Linked DNA regions of Homo sapiens: regions 2 and 3 are each linked to region 1. The links are contacts of gene promoters, found by promoter capture Hi-C in human tissues and cell types (Jung and others, 2019). All regions are on one chromosome and are shown on one strand. The core of a region is centred on a gene start or on the middle of the fragment in contact, and the rest is flanking DNA. Distances in the headings are between cores, read along the strand shown.

Region 1 (3,547 bases), core at 300-2,799:
GGGAAACTGAGGCCCACAGCAACAATAATAACTGTGGGGATGATATCATTTAATATTGAAAATAAGTGGATAATTGAGACCTCCATTATTAGTAGTTAATTTTTAAAAATCAAAGATCTCTCCTAATTAGCTTTATGGAGCAAATAAATATATTTTCCATATTCAAATATGGCTGTGATTTCTACACAAATGGTGTTAACAATCTAATACAGCATAAAACATTGTTTAAATATCATCATACCCTATTCCTAAACAGTAACGTGTAATAGATCTCTGGAGCCCAGTGTTGTAATATAAACACTTCCCAGGTGTATTCCCTTGGTAAAGTTTCATTACTTCTCTAAACGTCAGTTTTCTTGTGTAAAAAAGAGACACTTGTGTCTATCCTACTTACTGGTTACAAGGATATAATAAAAATAGTGAACAAAAATAGTGTTCATAAAGTACCCTGCACAGCACCTGATTATAGACTTAATAAGGGAGGGCTCAATGGTAGTTGCGTTTTGAATTACATTTAATGCTTCATTTTACTTCACTGTCACAAACTACTATGCTCTGCGGCAGGCTCAGAAGTCTCTAGGCACGGGTGAAGTGCTACTTCTCCACTCCCTTAAATGCCCCTGTATGCCCTGAGGATACTCAATGCATGCTAACCACCAAACGAACGGATGACTCAGAGCTTGGAGGAAATCCACGGCAGGCTGGAAAGCAAAGGCGCAGCTTATGGCTCAAGGATTAGGTTGTTACCTTTTTAAATTATTGCTTTTCTTTAAAGAAAGGGCTGTGGGGGACGCCTTTCAGCACTAAGAGAAAACCTCAGAAATCCTTCCCCCTGGAGACCCAGCTGAGAAGACCACACCAGGCACAGGGCATGAACAATGTCAAAAAGCTACTGCCCTGCAGGACACTGGGGCTGGAACAAAGATGCCTCCCAGCAGCTGGGCAAGGCTGGCTCCCACACAAGAAAAGCAGGGCTGATGTGAGCGTCCCGCACGATCCCCACCTGCTGAGACCTAATCCTGGGTTATCTCTCCGCTGGCCCAGAGAAACCTGAAACCCCCCAGGCTTTTGAAGGGCTTTATCTCCTCTTTCCAGGAACTGGGCTCAGTCCCTGTACTCGCTCCGAGGTGCCACTGAGCAGCTGCTGCCCAGAGCCCAGGCGAGCCCTGGTCCCATTTCCAGCTTGACCAAGTACAAGAGGGGAGCCAGGGCTGCGGATCCTACTCCCTCTTGCTCCCCAGGCATCCGTCTCACAATTAGAAAACCCGTGTGGGGAGCAAAGCAAAAATCACATTTCACTAACAGCTACTCGGGGTCGGGGGCGGGCAGGCGGGAATTCCTACTTTCGCCATAAATTGTATGCAAATGGGTTCCTTCCCTGGCCGAGAGCCAGGAGTGAGTGCGTCTTTCATGAGCTAACCCTGTTCCGCTGGGAGGGCTGTTCCTTTAATTCGCCAACTGAAAAAGTGGGAAAGGATGTCTGGAGGCGAGGCGTCCCATTACAGAGGAAGGAGCTCGCTATATAAGCCAGCCAAAGTTGGCTGCACCGGCCACAGCCTGCCTACTGTCACCCGCCTCTCCCGCGCGCAGATACACGCCCCCGCCTCCGTGGGCACAAAGGCAGCGCTGCTGGGGAACTCGGGGGAACGCGCACGTGGGAACCGCCGCAGCTCCACACTCCAGGTACTTCTTCCAAGGACCTAGGTCTCTCGCCCATCGGAAAGGTAAGTCTGTTTTGCCCTCATCACTAGAGATCCTTATGATGTAAGGATTGCATTCCTGGTACCAAATGAGTTGTGATTTTATATTATAATTACAAAACATATGGGGTTTTTTTTTCCACCGCTGGAAAAAAAAGGAGTGTGTATTGGTTATATCAGATGCACCTTGACTTTTCTGGTCTTGTAATTTTGTTTGTTTTAACTTTATGAATAGTCAGACTTGGAAGGAACTTTTCGTAAAGTTGTTATCTTCTGCTGTTCTGCAGAGGAAAAGTAAAAATTTTCTCTTCAACTGCTCTCCTACTTCTAGTCTGGCTGATTCACCTGTATATATCTTTTATTTTGAGGGTTAGGGCAGTAGAGTTTTAAGGCAGACTTTGCTCATAGCCTGCCCCTGGGATGGGTTAGAGGGAGTTTGATAGAGGAGTGCAGGGAGAATATAAAAGTTTATATCTAAACAGCACTTACATAAAGTTTACAAAGAGTTTTGTACCCATTCCCTCATTTGGTCCTCAAAATATTCACCCTGGAAATGAGAGCTGGGGGACAGAAGAGAGGAGGTGGCTCCTGGGCCAGATGAATAACTGACAGGCAGCTAGAGAGTGGTGGAGAACAGCTTTACTGGGGTGCCTAGAGCCAGCAGCGTCCCACATGTCTCTAGAATCACCTCCTCCTCCTCACCTCTCATCACAGAAAGATCTGAGCAACAACATCCCCCAGGTATGGGAACCCTGCTGCCCCTGGTGTACTTTGGAAAGAACACAGGGGTTCTTCTCACCCATCAGTGTTGTAAGAGGAATAAGAGCTTAGGTTTGAAGCCAGAGGTGTTTGGTATTCTCCCCACCACCATACATATGACCCTGAGAAAGATACATCACTTCCTTAATCCTCAGTTTTCACATCTCTAAAATGGGGACAATAGCGTCTGCTGTCGTTTTGAGGAGAAAATGAGGTATAGAAAGATCAGCAATGACTGCTTAATAACTGGAAGTTTGGATAATCATTGTCATTGCCAAAAACTGCCATCACTCTGGAAGTTAAAAGAGGCATTGAGCCAGTCTTGGATTGTTTCTTGTGTGTTGTTCCTCAGCCCGCCCCCAGCCCCCGCTTTTTATCTCACCCAATCTGAGGGTGTCTCACTAGGCTGGCAGGTCTGAGACTTGGCTGTATTTTACAAGCAGGAGGTTGTGTTGGCACAGGTTGGAGAAAAGGTAGTAGCCCGGGGCTGGAAGTTAATGTCAAATTTTGATTCCAGAATGTCAGGAGGTTTTGAGTTTAGGCATCTGCAGATTCTAAAGCTGACAGCTATGAAGTACGATGCTGTTGGAAACTCTTTGGAAAAGCTTTCTGTCCGGAGGGAGGGCAGGACAGGGAGCACCACTTGAAGAATGAATGCCTCTTTTTCATGTTTTTGTAGACTTTTTCCCCCATTTTTACAGAGCTTTCCCATATGTGTTTTAGAAAGGAAAACTACTATCCATCCCAGCCAGGCAAGCCCAATTCAGGACTGAAGAAGATTTATTCAGTCCTAGACAACCAAGTGAAGAGTTTCTGGCTTTGTGCGCATACAAGTCATTTGCAGGAGATGTAAGTCAGCGTGCTTTGGCCCTTGCATTTCAGGAAGGTGACTGCTTTGTGGGGAAGAAAAAGGTGCACAATATGAGTATTCTCTGGTTTGCTCAAACAGGGTAAATTGGACAAGGATTGAAAGGGATGTTGCCAAGCTCTACAGTCATTAAATATTTTTTTCCTCTATGCTTTGTTTTAAAAACCTAGCTTCTCTATTTTATCCCACACTAACCTCCTCCTTCCCCACTCTAAGAAGT
Region 2 (3,547 bases), core at 320-2,819, 220 kb before region 1:
CCCATGTAAATTGCATTGCTCTGCTTCCAGCTAGAGAAAAGCATGTGAGGAAGGTCTAGAGGCTGCACCTGTACATTTAATCAGCTTCCTTTAGTGAAAGATGATCATTTTGAAAGACATATTTTGTATTCTGTGTTTAAACTAGGACTTGAAAGAGGAGAAAATTGACCTATAGTTAGTTCATTATGCCCTGCTCTTTGCTAGTTCTCTTCTTTGAACAAACCCCACTACTCATATCACTTAGAGATTATGACTCTTTAAATCCTCTAAGAGCTCCTCCAGTGCCTAGCACAAGGTGTACCACCCAGTACACTCAAACAATGGGAAATCAAATGAAATAATTCCAGAAATTTACTGTGCAAAACAAATCCCACCTTTGCAAAGCTAAAGCTCATCTTTCTCCGAAACCTCTCTCTCACTCCTTACAGTTTCTCCATGCAGGTTCCCTCTTTCTGGAGATAAACTGAACAGAGGAATCTTGTTTGCTATATTTTTTGCAGGCAGCATCATGTGAAATAGGCACAGTGAAATGATTTCAACTGCAGCCCTTATTTTTCCATTTTTGTTCAAGACTCGAGAGTCCAGCTTGCCCAGGCCTGAAGCAAGAATGAAAAATTAAGTAAAAAGTTTAAAATCATGATGCTCAGAATCTCCATCCCAGGCCTGGAGGCAGCTCCTGGAAAATATGTGTCACATTTTTAAGCAAGACTCTCTGCTCCCTCCTTTTTCTTTCCTCCAAGACTCTGGAGCAAGCTTTGGGTGGGGCTCCTCTTCTCCCTAGAGGAACAGGCTGCTATTTTGGGGAATCTGATTGGGTTTCATGTTAACTGGAAACTTTGCCGCAAGGAGTGGCTCAAGGTCAAGAGAGACAGCTTCCACTTTGCTGTGTATTAGAAAGACTACCCATACGCAGGTGCTTTGGCATCAAGAAACCTGATTTAAATCTCAAATCCTGGGTCTGCACTTTCTAGCCATTTGACCTGAGTCAAATTACTTAAGTTGTCTGAGCTTCCATTTTTCTCATCTGTAAAATGGGTTTAATAAAATCTGTATCAGATAATCATATACACATGACAATTAGCATAGTTTCTACCAAAGAAGTACTCAATAAATGCTAAGTCATATGCAAAAACACACACTCTCTTCCTCCCTCCCTTTCTCTGTCTCTCTCTCTCTCACACACACACACACACACATGCACACACACATACATGTATGACCATCATTCACTTGGTACCAGCTGTGTCCTTGAGCCAACTCTATGAATTGGTTTTTAGGACAATTATTTTGCAGATGCAAATGATAAAAGTGAGACACAGCAATGTCAAGTAACCTGCCTGAGGTGGCATAATCAGGAAGTGAAGCAGTGAAACTCATATTTGAACTCAGATCTCTGATTCCAAAGCCCGTGTTCTTAAATGGTCTGACTGCTTCATTTCAAATCATTCACCCAACATATCCCAAATTATCTTCTCAACCCAAACCAAAGTACCCAAAGTGCCCTTACCTCAGGTTGATAAAGGGGCATTGCAAGAAAAATCACACATTGACCAAACCTCTTCTCACCACACACCTCCCTTCTCTGTTCCTCTGCAGGGGTAGCACTCTAAGTCCTCATCAGCTGTCTCTTTAATAAAAACTAAAGAGGACAGAGGATGAGGTCTGCGTTAGGTGCCCAGGAAGAAATGGTGCCAGGATAGTAGAGGGGCTTGGAAGGGAGGCAAGGACCATGAAAAAATTGAGGACCGAGGGCAGGTCCCCCTGTCCCCCTGCTGTTACTGGGCCACCTTAGGATCTGGGACTGTCGGCAGCTAAGCAGGCAAGACCAGGGCCCTCCCTGTCTGTCTCTGAGGTCATTCCCCAAGCACTCCACAGCCCTGACTTGCCAGGGATTAGCCCTGTCTGTAAGGGAGGTGCTGCCCCTGCCTGGCTCTGTGTCCTCTGGTTCCAGACTTCGAGCCAGTCCTAGAACCGACTAAGTTGCCCACTCCTTGCAACTCCTTCCACACTAGGTATGGACCCATTCTGTCTATTTATCTATTTGCGTCCATACAGAGAATCAATTTTATCTGCATATCCCTGGCACATAGCAGAGTCGGTGCTTAGTAAATGCCTATCTGTCTGAAGGACATCAAGGTATGGAGAAAAATGTCTTCAGAATTAAAAACATGGATTTAAATGCTAACCCTGGCCAGGCGCGGTGGCTCACACCTGTAATCCCAGCACTTTGGGAGGCTGAGGTGGGCAGATCATGAGGTCAGGAGATCGAGACCCTCCTGGCTAACATGGTGAAACTCTGTCCCTACTAAAAATACAAAAAAATTAGCCAGGCGTGGTGGCGGGCGCCTGGAGTCCCAACTACTCGGGAGGCTGAGGCAGGAGAATGGCGTGAACCCAGAAGGCGCAGCTTGCAGTGAGCCGAGATCGTGCCACTGCACTCCAGCCTGGGTGACAGAGCGAGACTCCATCTCAAAAAGAAAAAAAAAAAATGCTAACCCTCCCACTCAGTCTCTGTGACACCTTGGGTCATTACAATGTCTCCATGGGCCTTTTTCTTTTTTTTTTCATTTGCAATTGGAACTGATAATTCTTCCAATTCAATACTGCTGGGTGGATCATGTGAGATAATGCAAGTGAGAGAAGCTCATAAACTGTAAAGTGCTTACCAATGAGTAATTCTCAGGAAGACCAAGTGTCTAATGTCCCATGATTGGAGCAGCTATCCTGATCAGAGACTCATTTTACAGGTGCATGTGTGTCTTGAACATTTGTCTTATGCTTTCTGTGTGCTTAGAAGTGGTTCCTTACATCATTATTATAGTACACTGCATTTATCCATCATTCATTCATTGATTCGTTTGTATTATTTCATTCAGAATATGTTTATAACTTGGTATTTTCCAGGTTCTGTGATAAGTTCAAAAGATACCACAGTGAGGAAAGCAGACATGGATTTTGTCTCTTGGTGCTTATGGACTAATGGGAGAGAAGGGCATTATATAGATAGTAATTCAAATATTTTATTATAGTTGTGATAGTGCAAAAAGTGAAAGATACAGAAAATCAGAGCAGTATATAACAGAGCATAAACTGTGTGTGTGTGTGTGTGTGTGTGTGTGTGTGTGTATTTTCATGGTAGTGAGGTGGAGAGTCAATGCTTAAAAATAGTGAATACTTTCCTTAGAACATGTCAATTAAACACAGCCTAAATAATGAGTAGGACATCAGCAGGTTAAATGTCTGTGTCTTGTGTGTGCAGAGGGTGTTCATGGGTGGGGGTAGTTAGACACAAGCCTTTCAGAAAGAGATCAATTGGCAGCAAGATGACCACCAGGTAGGAAAGAGCTTGGCATCTAGAAAGCTGTTTGGGGAAGAGACAGGAAAAGACACATTCTGTCGAGTCTGAGATTTGTCTCACTTTTTCCTGTTGGCTTATACCAATGCTGCCAGCTACACAGAAGAAAAGAAGAAAGAGAAGGAGGAGAGAGAGGAGGAGAAGGAAAGGAGAAGGGAAATGTGGAAGGGGAGAAGGAAGAGGACTTTTGGA
Region 3 (3,547 bases), core at 304-2,803, 180 kb before region 1:
AAAACTGACTAAACTAGCAAAGTCACTCTAAGATCTCACAAGGGTGGAAGAATATATACATATCAGTAATAATGCAATATAAGTACAGGCATAAAAGCAAAAAAAGGTGTTTATGAATAAATTTAAAAATACATATATGCAAAAATTTGTATACAAAATTATGAAATAAGCAGCATAAGGGAAACAAAATATATGGAGAGTTGTGCCATTTCCATGAGTGGAGATATTTAAAATCACAAAGCTATTAACTTGATCCAAATCATCAATATATTTAATTAATGAGGTTTCAGATAAAATCTCAACAAGATTTCTCTCTCAGAACTCTACGCACTTATTCTAAACTCCATTTGAATATGCAAACAACAAAGATCAGCAAAGATAATTCTGAGGGGAGGGGAAAAAATGAGCTAGAACTTGACTACCTATCCATGAAAACAGTTTAAAGTCATAAAATTAAAAGAATGATATTGGAGCAGAGAAAAAGTCAAGTTAATGAAATAAAATTTGAAGCCCTTAAATAAGCTGAAACACATATGAGCCTGGTGTATGACAGAGGTGGCATTATAAATCAGTGGGAAGGAAAAAAGTGCAGTAAATGACCTGGTTTCCCATTCGGAACTCACTTTATAGACAAAAATAACTAAATAAAACTGCAAATGGGATTTTTTAATTAGAAGAGAATGTAGGATAACAATTTTTGACTAAGAGATAAAAATCAAATTTCTTAGAAAACTCTCAAACACTAGCAATTTATAGGAAAGCATTGATAAAACCAAGTGCATCAAAATTAAGATTTTCCCCATTACGAAGCACACCATGAAACATACTTAAAAAAATGGCAGGCTTAGAAAATATGTCTGTAACGTGTAAAACAAACACACGTGTAAAACAAACACAGATTATCTTGAATAGGTAGAGAAATTATGTATCAGTTTAAACGAACCAACAATATAACACAGAAGTTGGCAATTGATGGGAACAGGCAATTCAGAAGAGCCAGTGAACATATGAATAGATTATTATCCTCACTAGAAATAAAGGAAATGCAAATTAAAACAACAGTGAAGCATTTTACACCAAATAGTTTGACAAGCATTAAAGAGTCTGTCAATAGCAACTGTTGGTAAAGACATGAGAAAACTGAACTTTCCTACCCTGCTGGTGGGAGTCTAAATTAGTACAATCACTTTGGAGAGCAATTTGACTGTAGATCGTGAAATTGTTAAAATGTGCATGCCCAATGACTTCTCATTCTACTTCAGAGAAATGCCTGCACATAAACCAGAATGTTCATTATAGCAGTGTCTGTTTACAATGAAGAAAAATTGGAAACAATCTTTATGTCCTTCAGTGGAGAAAGAATGAGTAAATAAATTGTAATATATTCATGGAATTTACAATAACAAAAATCAAAATGAATTAATTAGATCTATGTGTAAAGACATGAATGGATATCAAAAATGCAATCTTGAGTAACAAAGGGGAAACAAGTTGTTAAAAACTGTAGTATGAAATAGTTCTGTAAATAGGTAAGAAATAGCAACCATATGTATTATTAGTGGATATATCTCATAATAAACATAGAAAATGGGGGCTGCAATGATACACAATAAAATTCATATTGGTGATTGCCTTTAGAGAAGGGGGAATGATATTAGGGATAAGAGCTTCCATGTTATCTGTAATACTTTAGATTTTTAAAATAAATAAGTTGCATGATGAAATACATTTTTTAAATTATAGTTAGGAGAAGGAGTCCAGGAGAAAAATCTGACACTGCCACTAAAAGGTAAGCAACAGGAGGAAGTGAGATTTGGTGTTTGTTTATTTTTCCATCTGTTCTCATATTATACAAGGCATATAATTACCATTGGTTCTCCTCACACATTTGCTGATTTAGGGATAAAGAGAAATGAAGAGATAAATTAGATATTATCCAAGTTTCCAAGAAGCTCAAAAGACATCAGAGTAGTAGACATAAGATATTACATACATGCACACATGCGCACGCACACACACACACGCACACTATGCATGACCACATCACTAAGTTCCTGCAAACCACAGAGCTTAAGTTATTCAGAGGCTACAGGGAAATCACTTTGTCCCTTCAATCTGAGACCCTTTTGCATGCCTGCTGAATTTTTAAGCTAGCACCATCCAAGGCAAATTGAGACGTCAAATCACCCTACTAGCTTGTCTACCATAGTCTGTCTAAACGTTCTCCATAGCTTTATCTAATCCTTCACTCTGAAAATACTTAAAGAACTTACCAGGCTCTGTACTAGATAAGAGACTACTCCTACTCTCTCTCTCTCTCTCATTCCCCAAAATAGCCCTATGTGGTCAATATTTTAACCTTATTTTATAGTTAAGAAAATTACAATGTACGCAGTTGAAATATCCAAAGTTACAGTTTGTAATTTGTGTAATTGGAATTCAAACTCAGGTTTGAATTACCCCAAAGTTAAGCTCTTTCTGCTGTAAAAGGATCTGGAAATGCAGTTGCTGAATCAGTTTCCTCAGCCACCACTTTATTCAGAGCTGCATCCCAAACACCATAGAAAAATAAAAGATAAATAGGTTTGAGTCCTTGCTGTAGCTCCCAGCTTGGGATCCAGCAGCGGGTTTACCTCATCAGTGATCTAAGAACTCGCTATAGACCAGGAGGTTATAATTAAGCCATCCTACAGTTCCTCCCAGCTGAACAAGCCTGCTGCCTTTCATCTGTGCACATAAGTCTTATATTCCAGGCCTTTACAGTTCCCACCAGATTTCCACATCCCTTTTGGGTTTGGGAGCCAAGAATTGATCACAGCCTTGCAGTGAGAGGAAGACCTGTGCTGTTTCACTCCAGGCAAATGCACTTATGTGTGGTGTAAGGGGATCCTCTTCTTGGTCCAGCCTGGAGATTTCAGTGTAATTAATGCTGTTTGTAGGTTGTAAGAAGTAACACCTAAGCCTCTCTGTTGATGGCCAAGCCATTACTAATTTTTCAGATGTGTTGATGACTTTTCCCCATGTGTCTACATGCCATGTCTGCTGAGCTCATCCATAGCAGGAAGTGGGATCAGTGGAAGTACCAAGAGAGAAGATAAGTAACATGTCCTCCCGGCACATGTGGAAGATAAATGCTCAATTCTTGGATGTGTTCTGTCTACTAAAACTTTAAGTTTAGGGAAGGCCTTTTAAAAAATGCATTTACCACCACACTTGGAACAAAATCACTAACCCTCCATCCCAATGAGCTACAGAAGTGGTTTATTATACAATATCCTGGTGGGAAATCAACCATATGTCTTTGGGAAGGAAAAACATGGCAGGGAGTTGCCTTGGTGCCAATTATGTGAAGGGTAATACTCTTGGCTTTTTCTGCCTGCCCAATCCGTGTGATGAGTGGAGGAAGGGGTGCAGGGACAGAGAAAGTGAGACACACTGTGGATACTGGCATGCATGGTAGTGTCTGTGAAGGCCACACTGGATATTAGATGCCAGCTCATATCTGCAGAGTCAGCAGGAAGGAGCAAGAGCTAGGAGGAAACTGCAT

What was found. Contacts are between HindIII fragments. The study calls those that stand out against the background at their distance.
Region 2: a contact is called between a fragment that was not itself captured here and the fragment with the promoter of TNC in region 1, in 2 of the 25 tissues and cell types used here (aorta and mesenchymal stem cells).
Region 3: a fragment that was not itself captured here is called in contact with the fragment with the promoter of TNC in region 1 in 1 of the 25 tissues and cell types used here (mesenchymal stem cells).

What each region holds. Positions count from the first base shown.
Region 1 is chr9:115,116,159-115,119,705 of GRCh38, reverse strand. TNC (tenascin C) reads left to right here and starts at 1,549. Exons shown (of 28, transcript NM_002160.4): 1 at 1,549-1,724. The region is part of intron 2 of LOC124902255 (a long non-coding RNA gene); the gene reads right to left. LOC101928748 (a long non-coding RNA gene) reads left to right here. Exons shown (of 6, transcript NR_110950.1): 6 at 1-167. RefSeq lists an enhancer at 451-1,270. The HindIII fragment of the contact is 7,931 bases long and covers 1-3,547 here.
Region 2 is chr9:115,338,807-115,342,353 of GRCh38, reverse strand. The region is part of intron 4 of DELEC1 (deleted in esophageal cancer 1); the gene reads right to left. Among named protein-coding and RNA genes, the nearest start is that of DELEC1, 200 kb to the right of the region's middle. The HindIII fragment of the contact is 5,724 bases long and covers 1-3,547 here.
Region 3 is chr9:115,300,279-115,303,825 of GRCh38, reverse strand. All of the region lies in intron 3 of DELEC1 (deleted in esophageal cancer 1), which reads right to left. Among named protein-coding and RNA genes, the nearest start is that of DELEC1, 160 kb to the right of the region's middle. The HindIII fragment of the contact is 3,347 bases long and covers 1-3,226 here.